5 separate regions of the Homo sapiens genome follow, and all the other regions are linked to region 5. The links are contacts of gene promoters, found by promoter capture Hi-C in blood cells and fetal thymus (Javierre and others, 2016). All regions are on one chromosome and are shown on one strand. The core of a region is centred on a gene start or on the middle of the fragment in contact, and the rest is flanking DNA. Distances in the headings are between cores, read along the strand shown. Region 1 overlaps ZMAT2 (zinc finger matrin-type 2). Region 2 holds the start of HARS2 (histidyl-tRNA synthetase 2, mitochondrial). Region 3 overlaps HARS1 (histidyl-tRNA synthetase 1). Region 4 overlaps LOC105378198 (a long non-coding RNA gene). Region 5 holds the start of SLC4A9 (solute carrier family 4 member 9).

What was found. The method cuts DNA at HindIII sites, captures the fragments that hold promoters and counts their contacts. A CHiCAGO score of 5 or more calls a contact.
Region 1: a contact is called between a fragment that was not itself captured here and the fragment with the promoter of SLC4A9 in region 5, in 11 of 17 cell types (non-activated CD4 T cells, fetal thymus, naive CD4 T cells and 8 more). The highest score is 9.3, in non-activated CD4 T cells.
Region 2: a contact is called between the fragment with the promoter of HARS2 here and the fragment with the promoter of SLC4A9 in region 5, in 1 of 17 cell types (naive CD4 T cells). The highest score is 5.2, in naive CD4 T cells.
Region 3: a contact is called between a fragment that was not itself captured here and the fragment with the promoter of SLC4A9 in region 5, in 1 of 17 cell types (erythroblasts). The highest score is 5.6, in erythroblasts.
Region 4: a contact is called between a fragment that was not itself captured here and the fragment with the promoter of SLC4A9 in region 5, in 3 of 17 cell types (total CD8 T cells, naive CD8 T cells and total CD4 T cells). The highest score is 6.4, in total CD8 T cells.

Annotation. Positions count from the first base shown.
Region 1 is chr5:140,706,179-140,708,878 of GRCh38, forward strand. ZMAT2 (zinc finger matrin-type 2) reads left to right here. Exons shown (of 6, transcript NM_144723.3): 6 at 1-508. Among named protein-coding and RNA genes, the nearest start is that of ZMAT2, 7.1 kb to the left of the region's middle. The HindIII fragment of the contact is 9,003 bases long and covers 1-2,700 here.
Region 2 is chr5:140,690,102-140,692,801 of GRCh38, forward strand. HARS2 (histidyl-tRNA synthetase 2, mitochondrial) reads left to right here and starts at 1,354. Exons shown (of 13, transcript NM_012208.4): 1 at 1,354-1,655. The coding sequence starts at 1,548. It overlaps HARS1 (histidyl-tRNA synthetase 1), which reads right to left and starts at 1,269. Exons shown (of 13, transcript NM_002109.6): 1 at 1,114-1,269; 2 at 754-843. The coding sequence starts at 1,203. RefSeq lists enhancers at 976-1,205, 1,366-1,455, 1,536-1,605 and promoters at 1,204-1,654, 1,204-1,325, 1,297-1,323, 1,388-1,704. The HindIII fragment of the contact is 4,332 bases long and covers 1-2,700 here.
Region 3 is chr5:140,673,968-140,676,518 of GRCh38, forward strand. HARS1 (histidyl-tRNA synthetase 1) reads right to left here. Exons shown (of 13, transcript NM_002109.6): 11 at 1,050-1,166; 12 at 712-858; 13 at 1-361. The coding sequence ends at 290. Among named protein-coding and RNA genes, the nearest start is that of DND1, 1.7 kb to the left of the region's middle. RefSeq lists an enhancer at 1-74. The HindIII fragment of the contact is 340 bases long and covers 1,081-1,420 here.
Region 4 is chr5:140,739,267-140,741,966 of GRCh38, forward strand. The region is part of intron 3 of LOC105378198 (a long non-coding RNA gene); the gene reads left to right. Among named protein-coding and RNA genes, the nearest start is that of ZMAT2, 40 kb to the left of the region's middle. The HindIII fragment of the contact is 1,719 bases long and covers 584-2,302 here.
Region 5 is chr5:140,358,835-140,361,534 of GRCh38, forward strand. It overlaps SLC4A9 (solute carrier family 4 member 9), which reads left to right and starts at 1,360. Exons shown (of 22, transcript NM_031467.3): 1 at 1,360-1,632; 2 at 1,978-2,138; 3 at 2,420-2,533. The coding sequence starts at 1,403. The HindIII fragment of the contact is 10,887 bases long and covers 1-2,700 here.

The DNA of each region.
Region 1 (2,700 bases), core at 64-2,563, 350 kb after region 5:
CAGTTTCCAGTTGATTGCATATCCTTGATCAGCCCTTTTTCCCATCCTGCCCTATGGTTCTCTAGCCACCTGTGCATGCATGTGTATTTCTGCCTGGTTCTATGGTGTGTGGATGTGTGTGCATGAATCTGTCATATAGAGGGGGTCCGAGCTGGAATCCTAGAGCATTGCTGCCCTGGGGCCTGATGTTCTTGGCTTCCTCAGAGCATGTAACAGGAAATTAAATGGGATGAGTGTTTGGTGTGGTTTGTGTCTGATGAGTTTTTTAACATTCAGGTGTAGATTGTTTCAGCTTCTCATGTTTCATTTTCCTGAAGATTTATGTTTTTGTCTACCTTGTGAGCAGGCTTTTGGAAGAACCTGTTTGATGCAAAAAAGAAAATGAAAAACAAAACAAAAAATCCCCAAAACCTTATTATGGGAGCCCGTCGGTCTTAGAAGCTGTTTGACATGTATAATAAATGGCATTGACTGGGCCTGTTTTACATTTGGTGAGAACATTCCATAATCTTCCCTGTGAATATTTGTTTTTCCTTCTCATGCTGAGGATTTCCATATAGAGTATTTTATTCTTCCATTTTAAATCTTATTTTTGCCTAGGTTTTTTTTTAGCATGAGTTATGTTTTCGTCTGATAAGGGATCTATGTCCAGAGAAGTCTGAACCAAAACGATTCCTATCATTTCAGACTCCTTTGATCTTTTGTTTTTGGAACAGCAGAGCTCAGGATTGAACATAATGTTTTTTCTTTTTTTTTTTTCTTTTTTTTGAGACAGTCTTGCTCTATCGCCCAGTCTGGAGTGCAGTGGCGTAATCTTGGCTCACTGCAACCTCCGCCTCCTGGCTTCAAGTGGCTAATATTGTATTTTTAGTAGAGATGGGGTTTCACCATGTTGGCTAGGCTGGTCTCAAACCCCTGACCTCAGGTGATCCACCTGCCTCGGCCTCCCAAAGTGCTGGGATTACAGGCGTGAGCCACTGCACCTGGCCCTTAGTGTTTTTCTTACTGTCTGCTAGACACAGAATTACTTAATTTTGGCACTGTTGAGATTTTGGGCCAGATTATCATTTGTTGTAGAAACCAATGCTGGCATTGTAGGATGTTTATTATTTTGATTTTGATTTAGGATTAACTTCATCCCTGGACTCTACCTGCTAGATGCCAGTAGCACCCTCTTCCACAATTGTGACAACTAAAAATGTCTATGCCTCTGAGAAAGGCAAAATCCCTCCCTACCCACATTGAAGACCACTAAGAAGAAGCTAGCTGTCTTCCCTACCTTGGTCTGATTTGAGAATTAGATGGCACAGACTGGCAAACTCAAAACAGAAACTCACAAAACTTTGATATCCACTGGATCAAGTACTATGCCAAGTCAAGGGGATGCAGAAGAAAAAAATAGCCATACATACACGAAGAACTACAGTCACATTAACTTCAAGCAGATGAAGCCTGTAACTTGCTGGTTCTATACCCTGAAAAAATGGACCTGTAAATGAATCTGTTTGGGTTAACAAGGCTGCCACCATATAGCTGGTTTTCATTCTCTGCCCCATCAAGCTCCTCAACTTTCTGTATTATCTGAACCACAAAGCACCATACACCTCCCTTTGGACTTTTGTACAAAATTCCCTTACTGTAAGACATGCCCTTTGTCTAATTTCTGATGCTGAATCTTGCCACTGGGAACACTGAATGTATCTTCACCTATGGGCTGAAGGCCTGGCTCAGTTTTAGATACAGTAAGTACTGGGCAACTGGGGGCAGATTGGTGCGTGCTTTCCTTGGCAGGATTATGTGCACTTCAGGTCCCTTGGGTGACAGTCTTCTTGTTGACTAGGTATTTTGTTACCCCTTTCAAGGCAGGCTGGAGGTTTGTGAGTTCCTTCCATGGTTCAGTTTTTTTTTTTTTTTTTTTTTTTTTTTGAGAGTGTCACTGTCACTCAGGTTAGAGTACGGTGGCACGATCTCAGCTCACTGCAACCTCCACCTCCCAGGTTCAAGTGATTCTCCTGCCTCAGCGTCCTGAATAGCTGGGATTACAGGTGGCCGCCACTATCCCCAGCTAATTTTTTTGTATTTTTAGAAGAGATGGCGTTTCACCGTGTTGGCCAGCTGGTCTTGAACTCCTGACCTCAAGTGATAGCCCTCCTCGGCCTCCCCAAGTGCTAGGATTACAGGCATGAGCCACCACCCCTGGCTTCATTCTTCAGGAAACCATCTAGTTCAATTTAGCTTCAAAGAATGTCTTTCCCTTTTTGGTACAGTGGGATCTTACCTCTGGTTGCATCTAAAAAGCAATTCTGAATTTAAGAATCTTTAAACTCTTGGGACTGGTTAAGTGGTTTGAGTCTCAAAGGGACCTAAGTCATGGAGTGTCTGGAGGTGCTCAGGGTGGCATCTTGGAAAAGTAAATGGAATGGAAATTCAAGAGCCCACAGCAATCCCAGATAACTCAGAAATCTCAAAGAGAAGCTGCTTTCAGGTCTTTTTTGAGACAGTCGCTCTGTTGCCCAGGCTGAAGTGCAGTGGCGCTATCTCGGCTCACTGCAAGCTCCACCTTCCTGGTTCATGCCATTCTGCTGCCTCAGCCTCCCGAGTAGCTGGGATTACAGGCGCCTGCCACCACGCCCGGCTATTTTTTTTTTTTATTGTATTTTTAGTAGAGAGGGGGTTTCACATGTTAGCCAGGATGGTCTT
Region 2 (2,700 bases), core at 104-2,603, 330 kb after region 5:
TTTCTCAGAGCAACCTTAATTTCTTTATATCATTTTTCACAATATGTAATTACATAACCACATGTGGTGGCCGGGTGCGGTGGCACACGTCTGTAATCCCAGCACTTTGGGAGACTGAGGCGGGCAGATCACTTGAGGTCAGAAGTTCAAGACCATCCTGGCCAATATGGTGAAACCCCGTCTCTACTAAAAATACAAAAATTAGCTGGGCATGGTGGTGGGCACCTGTAGTCCCAGCTACTCAGGAGGCTGAAGCAGGAGAATCGCTTGAACCCAGGAGGCAGCGGCTGCAGTGAGCCAAGATGTGCCACTGCACTCCAGCCTGTGCAACAGAGGATACTCTGTTTAAAAAAAAAACAAAAAAATCTGTGTGGGATTATTTGTTCTAAGTCTCTCTCCTTCAGTAGAATGTAAGCTCCATGAGGGTAGGCTATATTGTCCACCATGGTATATATTCAGTGCTTTGTATAGTGCTAGAGACATAGCGCTAAATACACATTTATTGAATGAACGAAGGAGTAGCAGCAGCAGGCTGACTCCCCTGATCACCCAGCTGGCCTAGTTTCTGCCATCACTTTGCCATCCCAGAATGACTCAGGTAGAGTCCAGTCCAGCCCAGCGCCCAGAGCGACTGTCCTCTCCTCTGCAGCATTTCAGATCCTCCTCAATGACCTGGTTTAGGGAGGCAGACATAAGCGCCCCGTGAGTAGAGTTAGAGACTTTCTCAGTGGCTCCCTACAGGAATGATATTACCTTGGGGGTTTTGAGCACAAATTTCTGTTTGCTTTCATCAGGACCCAGCTGTGCCTTCAGTTTCAGGAGTTTCGCCACCTCCTCCTCGATCTGTGGAGGGAAAGAAGGCGCTGAGCTATCCATCTGTCACTCTCCTCCCTCCCCCGCCATTCATTCAATATTCCTCCCTCATCACATCTCTCTGCTCAGGCCTAGCTTTGTTTCTCTCGGGACCCACCCCGGATGTCTCCCCACGCAGCCCACTCTCCTCCCTACAAGACTGGTCGCTTCCCTCACATCTCTACCCTATGTCCCGAACACCCTGGCTTTACGTCCTCCCAGGCTTTGCCTTGGCCCTCTCCCCTGCTGCCTAAATCTCACCAGCTCGGCGCTGGCCTTCTGCTGCTTGAGGCCTCGCACGCGCTCTCCCTGAAGTTTCACCAGCTCCTCCAGCGCCGCACGCTCTGCCATCCCGGCTGTCCACTTGAGCCGCCTGCTGTCTCGACCTGCGGTGGTTGCCCCAGCCTCAGCAAGGATGACTTCCGGCTATCGAGTCGCTGGGTCGCACGCCTAGAGAGCCTCCGCCGAGCACAAAAATTATTTCCGGCTCCTCCCGGAAGTGCCGAAGCTGGCTACTAAGGGAACTTGGGAGGATCCCACCTCAGCCTTCGTGACTAGTGAGGTGCGCAAACGCCCGAGTTTTCCCTGGTGCGCGGGTTCCGCCTTTGCAGTGCCCTCCACCCTTCCTGGTGTCTGACCCGCCTCCTTCCCAGGCCTTTTGTTCCTGTCCCGGAAAGCCGGCGTCCTGCCGCGCGATGCCCCTGCTCGGACTTCTTCCCAGGAGGGCCTGGGCTTCGCTGCTCAGCCAGCTCCTGCGACCGCCCTGCGCTTCGTGCACCGGGGCGGTCCGTTGCCAAAGCCAGGTGAGCGAGACAGAATTATCTCTGGTCTGTCCCAGCAGGGTCTCCAGATCTGAACGCATAGCCTCGCGGCCTGTATTCCAGTAGTGTTACAATCGGTTTTTATCGAGTGCCCACTATGTACTGACACTGAACTAAGCGATTTGGATGCCTGGTCATTTAATCCTTGGAGCAATCTTGAGAGGTTGGAGTTTTGATTTCCATTCTGCAGTTGAGGAAACGGAGGCTGCAAGATTAAATGAATGACTTATACACGGATATGTAGTAAGGGAGTATTTTAATTCATATCCACACTTTTTCCTGAAACTCTTGGACTCAAACAGTAACATTTTTAAGCGAAATATATGAATATTCCTAGTAAATGAGATGACTAAAGATCAGAAGTAGACTGAGTTCATCTTAGAATTTACCTCAAAATGAATCTCAGAAAAACATTTTCAGATGTCAGAGAGTTTTGGATTTTGGAATTGCAGATAAGGGATTGTGTACTTGAACTTGGACTTCTCTTAGGGCAGATAATCGCCATAGTATGGAACCACCACATCCTCTATTTTTGGAAGGGCATACAGCGTGCTGGTAATGTCACTGATTAAGTTTTGCCTTACTTCGGAAAGATTCTAATGCTCTCTTAGCAGATGCTTTGTGCTATCGTGAACAATAGGGCACAGATCTTTTATTGATATTCAATCACAGCATCTTATCAGTCTGAGTTTTTTAGCTCATTCAAGAAATCCATATCTTATCATTCCACAGGCTTGTTCTGTGTCCTTGAGCTGGTTCCCTTGTCTTCAAGTTACAGTTTTCCTCTCTCTAAACCTGATAACCAGTGCTACCTTATTAAAAATTATTATTTTTTTGTCCGGGCACAGTGGCTCATGCCTGTAATCCCATCACTTTGGGAGGCCAAGGGGGGTGGATCACCTGAGGTCAGGAGTTTGAGACCAGCCTGACCTGTATGGCGAAACCCCGTATCTACTAAAAATACAAAAATTAGCCGGGCGTGGTGGCATGTGCCTGTAATCCCAGCTACTCGGGAGGCAGAGACAGG
Region 3 (2,551 bases), core at 1-2,500, 320 kb after region 5:
TGGTGCGGGGCCCTGCAGATGGGACCATCTCAGGCTGGGTCCTTGTAGCCCAGGAGCACAGACTGGACTAAGCCTCCTGGGCCTTGTATGAAAAAGGTGTTGTACCTGGCCGTTTTTGCCAGTAATAATCAATAAAATAACCATAATAAAAATCAAAGGCTCTGTTCTGACCACTCTTCAGGTCTTCCGCTGAAACGGAAAAGTGCAAAGCAATTGAAGTACATATGCAGTTTGTCTTAACCTCAAATAGTGCCAGTCCCACTTCCTTTCCTCTGATAGTTTGTTCAGTTCAGCAGATGCAGAGGGGCTGGCCTGTTCTCCTTTTGATTTCCTCCACAAGGTCTTCTCTTCGGACATCCACCTGGCCAGGATGGGAGAAGAAGGTGGTATAAGCATCTTCCATTCCACTGCTCCCCGAGTGCCTAGTTTCCTCTAGCCCTCTAGGCATCAGGCTTGTCTCAGCTGGGAGCAGGAACCTAATTAAACACCTCAGGCTAGAGTGTGCCTCTTGGGGGAGCCAACAAACCATAAGGTATATGCAGGGATGGAGATCTCACCCTACTAAGACCACAGTAACAGGTTAAGCCCTCAAGGCTTTTATGAGTTGTACTAATATCAATGCCAGGCTTTTTCTCAGGTCTTGAATGGGCATGGGCCTGCCAAAATGGCATACATTCTCTGTCCCTTAGCCTTCCTGCCCACCTCCCTCACCTCTTCCCTGCTCGTCACTGAACGGAGCTTGATGACCCCATCCTTGAGTTCCTGCTCGCCGATGATAGCCACCAGTGGGATGCCTGCCTCCTCACAGTACTGTAACTGGTTCAGTAGCTTTGGGTTCTTCTTGTACAGCAGCTCAGCCTGCAGGGGACAAGAGCAGAAGATGAAGGCTGGCTTCTGCTGTCCTCAGGGACAGAGGGTGTCCAAGCTGGCACCCTGTTCTTAGCTCTACTTTTGAGAAGTAATGGCAGGATCCATTATGGGTGAGCTTTTATTCAGTTTGTGTCCAGCACACCTAAGTTTGCTGCCACCCTGGGGCTTGCCTCCCATACCTTGATCCCAGCATCCCACAGTTCTGAGACAAGCTTTAGTCTTTCCTCTAGCAGCTTCTTCTGTGCAGATGCCACAAGCACCTGTGTCTCCGTGGTCCGTATCTTCTCCTCCAAAGCCTGGGGAAGGGGCAGATAAAAGAGAGCTGGGCTAACACCTTCAAGGAGCAAACAAAGCAGGCTCTAGTCGGGATTTTGAGACCAGGCCCAACTCAGCTCTACCAGGGCAGGGGCCCTGTCTTCTCATCTAGCACCTTGGGCATAAAGGTAGCTTTTAGTAGATATGAGGACTGAACTGACTGACTTGTACATAGGACGTATCAGAATAAATAACTTAGGGCAAGAGTAAAGGTAGCTTTTTTACAGTAACTTCAAGCTTATCTCCATGTAGTACCTTTTTTTTTTTTTTGAGACAGGGTCTCTGTCATCCAGGCTGAAGTGCCGTGGTGTGATCACTGCAGCTTCGACCTCCCAAGCTCAAGTGATCCTCCCACCTCAGCCTCCTGACTACAGGCACACACCACCATACTCAGCTAATTTAAAAAAAAAAAAAAATTTTTTTTTTTAATCTGTAGAGACAGGGTCTCATCATGTTGCCCAGGCTGGTCCATGTAGTACCTTAAGGGTCCACCAAAGCATTCACACAGAAGTACTACTATGAGCCCACCCCAATTAGATCACCCTTGACAGTTTTAGTCCCCACTTACTATCTACCCATTTATGACACTGTGCCTCTCACACTTCAGTTACAGGGCACAGGCGTGTATATGGGTGTGGGGAAAGGAGAATGCTGCTGCTGCTTCCCTTGTCTTTTTCAGGAAAACTATTTTCATAGTTCTTAGAATGTAAGATGCCTACTGGAAAAATGATCTCAACTGGGAAATGGGTGGTTTCCACCCTAGAGAAAAGGCATAGGACTGTGGGGAGGTTGCCAGAGCATTTCCCAGAAGATGAAATGCAACCAGCCACTTAAGACCAGCAGCAACAAAGGAGGGCTTGAGGCTACAAGAGGCTTCCTTGGTGTTACTCTAGGTGCTAGAGAGTCACGGTAGCCATCTGAGGGATCCCAGGGCCTCAGACACATGCTTCCCATTTAGAGACAGTATTGCAGTGTGGTTAGTGGCAAGACTTTGGAGTCAGACTGCCTGGATTCAAATTCTGACCCTACCACTTACAAGTTTCATGGCCTTAAGCAAATTATTTGATCTATAATGCTTCAGTGTTCTCATCTGGAAAATGCAATTAATAAAATTAGCTACTCTCACAGGGCTGTAGTAACAATTATATTTTGATAATGCATGAAAAGCACCAAGCACAGTGCCTGGCACAAGGCAGTAAAATGTTAAGTATTCCGTATCATGAGGAAGATCTAAGTCTTGGATACACCAGCCCAGGTTTGTGACAGCCCTGAAGGAAGTAGAGACCCAGAGCAGAGGATTGAGTGCAGAAAGATTATGGATTAAAGATCCATAAAACTTACATATAATGGGGTAGAAATCTGTGAA
Region 4 (2,700 bases), core at 193-2,692, 380 kb after region 5:
ATGTTCAGAAAATTTGCTATTCTTATTACCTACTAGTTTTTCTGTAAATTTGCTGGATATTATAATGTTTATAATCATATTAACTCTAAATAAGGAGAGTTTTATACTCGTATTAACTCTAAACATACAGAGTTTTAACTCTAAATAAAAAAGTTTCATATAAGAAGGTGTATCTTCTCACTCATAAGTGGGAGCTAAGCTATGAGGCTGCAAAGGCATAAGAATGATACAGTGCACTTTGGGGACTCAGGGGTGTAGGGTGGGAAGTGGGTGAGGGATAAAAGACTACAAATTGAGTTCAATGTATACTGCTCTGGTGACGGGTACACCAATATCTCACAAATCACCACTAAAGAACTTACTCACGTAACCAAATACCACCTGTTCCCCAAAATCCTACGGAATAACCTCCTTATACTTTTCCCCTTCTTTTTCTAACCATGGAGAATGCCATATGAACACCTCAGACCTTTATATTTTTCTCTTGTTGTATACACTGGTTAGGCCCTTTGGAACAATGACGACAGGATGATTAAAGTGATGATAGCAGACATCCCTGTCTTGTTCTGGATTTCAAAGGGAAAGCTTTAATCATTTCACCATTAAGTATGATGTTTGCTTTAGCTTTTTTTTTTTCCCCTGGACACCCTTACCAAGTTACAAATATTCTCTTATATGCCTAAGGATACAACTAATATCTGCTAAAAATCTTAAGATTAATTAAGATTATTTTAAAATCATGAAAGGTTGTTGAATTTTATTAAGTAATTTTTCTGCATGTACATAGATAATCATGATTTTCCCTTTAGTTCATTAACTTTGCATATATACTAATTACTTTTATAATGTTAAGTCAACCTCATATCTTGGAGAAATTCTACTTATGCTGTATTATTCTTTTTTATGTACTACTGGATTTAATTTTCTAATAATTAGTATGGGTTTTTTTTCATTTATTTACATTAATGACATTAGACTGGGCTTTTCCTTTTTTGTGTGTATTTTTTACAATAGGATTCACTATCAGGTTATTTTAGCATTAGAAAATCATTTAGGAAGTGTTCCTTCTTATTAATTAGGATAGTTTGTATATGATTGAAATGACTTAATTTTTCTTTTCTTTCTTTTTCTTTTATTGAGACAGGCTCTTGCTCTCTCACCCAGGCTGGAATGCAGTGGTGCGATCATGGCTCACTGCAGCTTCCACCTCCTGGGCTCAAGCGATCCTCCTGCCTCAACCTCTCAAGAATCTGGGACCACAGGCACATACCACACGCCCAGCTAATTTTTTATTTTTAGTCGCGATGAGGTCTCACTGTGTTGCATGGGATGATCTCGAACTCCTGGGCTCAAGCCATCCTCCTACCTCGGCCTCCCAAAGTGTTGGGATTATAGGTGTGAGCCACTGTGCCTGGCCCTAACAATTCTTTGTTAGATGAATATTCATGTTAACATTTTTATGCCTTTGCAAAATATAATTCCCAGCAGAACATGGTCATATACCATGATTGTCTCCTTTTCTTCTTTCTACTTTTCCTGAAGTTAATGCTTGACTTTTCTTCATGTGCTTAGTTTTCCTTGGACCTCTTGTTAATTTTTTGCACATTCTTCAATAACTCTTAGTACAGTTTTCTATGTGGTATATCATTTCAGGTAATCAGAGAAAGTATTAATACAAAAGAGCTATAAGATACCAGAATGTTTAGGCCCAGATCCAGAGAGGAGTAATTGTTGTGGGTTATTACCTAGTAACCAGGTAACAATGAAGCTCTGGTAGCTTTAAAGACCCAAGGCTGGCATTTGGCAGTTTGGGAGGATTTCATGGGTCTGACTCATGTACTGGCTGTGAAAGTTGATTTGAGCTAAAATGACCCCGGTTTGGTCATCTGGGAAGCACTGAGGCTGGTCCAAGACTTGTGGCAGGTAGCCACTGAGTGGGAGGAGGGAGAGTGAGCCTAGACACAGCTGGGGGAACAGTTTTTAGGGAAAGGAAGACATGGGTTTCTCTCAGTGGTGTGCATCCTCAAATGGGGGCTTCCCAAGTTTGTGTGTCCTGGTCTGGAAGTTGTGGTGGGTAGAAGGAAACTTAAAACTCAGCATCGTTCTTGAACCATTCAGGCCTAGGCTGACCCTACTGCCCAGGGTATACCAACTCATGACACTTATCTGTCAAGGAACTCCAAATTCAATCTACTTTCTGCATTATCTCAGTGATATATTTGCATGCTTCTTCCTGTCTGTGTTTTGGGGGCAGGTTTGATGTCCATGGACCCTCTTTAGTCCTCTATGTATGTCCCCACCAAGCTTATCATTTTCTTGGAGATGGGAGAGAGCCCTTTTTCAAGGAGGGGTCTAAAACGGCATGGATTCCTGAGAAGACTAGGCTGGGTCAGGAGCTGAAGAGGTTTAAGGTTGGGACAGAAACTCTGGAGGTTAGCCTTGGTAAGAGTCTTTTGAGACCTACTCCATGAGTAAATCTGCTCTTCACCAAATTTCCAGATCCCCACAGTTCCTCTGAGCAGCTTCTCACTACTGTCATCTCTCCCAGATATGAACCAAATCCCTGGTTGCCAAGACAAGTTGACAAGGTTTGAAAAAGAAACTATTTTGAAACAGAACTTCAAGGAAAAATAAGAACCCATTCTCAGGCAAATCCTAGCAGCTTTGATTAGTAAAGAAACAGCAGTCCTTGTTTGATTC
Region 5 (2,700 bases), core at 110-2,609:
GACTTTGGGCAAGGGAGGAAGAGTGGAAGCAGGGGGGTTATTACAAGAGACCAGGAAGCTACTGAAATAATTCAGGTGAGAAATGATGGTTGTTTGAATCAGGGTAGCAGTGCTGGAGGTGGGGAGATGTGGTTGGATTATGGGTATATTTTGAAGATAGAGTCAACAGGATTTGCAAATAATGGACCACATTTTCCTTTGCTCATTTAGCTCCAGGAACTCCTTCACTTACACCCCCTAGTGGGCTCCTCCATCCTCACAGGGCAGATCCCAGGGACACAGCTAAATTAGGGAATTCCTAAGTGTTGTTGGACAAAAGAATTTAAGACTCGTTAGCTGGGCAGCCAGGCACAGTGGCTTACGCTTGTAATCCTAGCACTTTGGGAGGCTGAGGCGGATGGATCACCTGAGGTCAGGAGTTTTTGAGACCAGCCTGGCCAACATGGTGAAACCCTGTCTCTACTAAAAATATAAAAATCAGCCAGGCCTGGTGGCACATGTCTGTAATCTCAGCTACTTGGGAGGCTGAGGCAGGAGAATCACTTGAACCCAAGAGGTGAAGGTTGCAGTGAGCTGAGATCACACCACTGCACTCCAGCCTGGGCGACAGAGCGAGACTCCGTCTCAAAAATAAAATAAAATAAAATAAAAGACTTAGCTGGGCATGGTGGCGTGCACCTGTAGTCCCAACTACCTTGGAGGCTGAGGTGGGAGGATCACTTGAGCTAGGAGGTCAAAGGTGCAGTGAGCTATAACTGTGCCACTACACTCCAGACTGGGTGAGAGAGTGAGACCCTGTCTCAAAAAAAAAGAAAAGAAAAGAATTTAAGACTCAGACACTAGGTCTTCCACCATTATCCCATTTAATGGGCAGGTCCTCTGCCTGCTATCTCCCTTACCCTGTCTGGCTTCCATGGACTCAATTATTTATTAGGTCCCTGTTTGTCCAAATAGGTGTGTCTGTGGCCCCAGGGGTGTGTTGGTGACACCCAAAACAGTCCTGGGTGTTTGGTATTTATATTTGATACAAGTGAGGGGGGCAGCAAAATCTGGGGGTACCAAGTCCTCAGACCCAAGCCAATCATTTACTCCTGTTTCTTTACACAAAACACAGTGGGATCAGACCTGATACCACAGGAAATGCACATACACATTTTGGCCCCAGGTTGGGCATTTCTGGAGAGCCTGGGAAAGGCCAGACTAGTCTTACAAATACTCTTATGCCAGCAGGGGGTGGGGTAAGCAAGTAGGGGAGTAGGTGACCGGTAGAGTCTGGAGTCAGCAGGCCTTGTTCTGTTTGTGTTGTGCTGCAGTGGGGGATGCATTATAAATGCAACCAGCCAGAGGGCCCCTGGCTTCAGAACCTAGGACTGTACTGGTTCTGAGATTCTGTGCAAGCCTCATGGAAATGAAGCTGCCAGGCCAGGAAGGGTTTGAAGCCTCCAGTGCTCCTAGAAATATTCCTTCAGGGGAGCTGGACAGCAACCCTGACCCTGGCACCGGCCCCAGCCCTGATGGCCCCTCAGACACAGAGAGCAAGGAACTGGGAGTACCCAAAGACCCTCTGCTCTTCATTCAGCTGAATGAGCTGCTGGGCTGGCCCCAGGCGCTGGAGTGGAGAGAGACAGGCAGGTAAGTTGGATGCAGGCCAGTTCTGTGGGATCCTTCCCCTTCCCCAGCTGGAGCCTCCTATATGTCCCCCAGCGCTTCTTATGGGGCTGCCCAAAATTAGGATTTTCCCAGCTGTGTTCCCTTATTTCAGGGTCTTACCTTCCATGATGCCCAGCCTCCTCTGCAGTCTAGTTTTGAGATCCCCAAGACCCTAGATGAGGGGTGACTGCCAGGGTGGGGGGGAGACTTCACACCACTGGGCCCAGGATGCCCTCATTGCCTTGCCTTCCCTAGCTCCTCTGCATCTCTGCTCCTGGACATGGGAGAAATGCCCTCAATAACACTGTCTACCCACCTTCATCACAGGTGGGTACTGTTTGAGGAGAAGTTGGAGGTGGCTGCAGGCCGGTGGAGTGCCCCCCACGTGCCCACCCTGGCACTGCCCAGCCTCCAGAAGCTCCGCAGCCTGCTGGCCGAGGGCCTTGTACTGCTGGACTGCCCAGCTCAGAGCCTCCTGGAGCTCGTGGGTAGGCTGGGATCCTTTGCAGGAAGGGCCTGGGTAGCCATGCCTTTTCCCCAGGATTTCCCCTCCAAAGTCTTGAAATCTTCCAGAGCCCATCCCTACCCCTCCTAGGATTGTCTACCCTTGTCACAGGGTGGACATGGAAAAGCAGGGTGGAGGAGCAAGTTCATTGGCCCTGGCATTCTGAGACTCCCAGAAGGGAAAGGTGTCTGGGCAGAGGGAGAAGGGGAAGAGTGTGCGGCAGGGAACTCTCAGGAAGGAGATGACCCCCAATCCATTCTCCAGAGCAGGTGACCAGGGTGGAGTCGCTGAGCCCAGAGCTGAGAGGGCAGTTGCAGGCCTTGCTGCTGCAGAGACCCCAGCATTACAACCAGACCACAGGCACCAGGCCCTGCTGGGGTGAGAGCCCCTCCCTGGGCCCAGGACCAAGACCCTGGTGTGGCAGGGTCTCAGATCTCCCCTGCACCTTCCAGGGCTAGAAGTAGCCCAGGCTTAGTTCAGGCTCCAACCCAGGACTCATGAGCAAGAGGAAACTGGTGGTAATGTTGTGGGGAGAAGATTCAGGG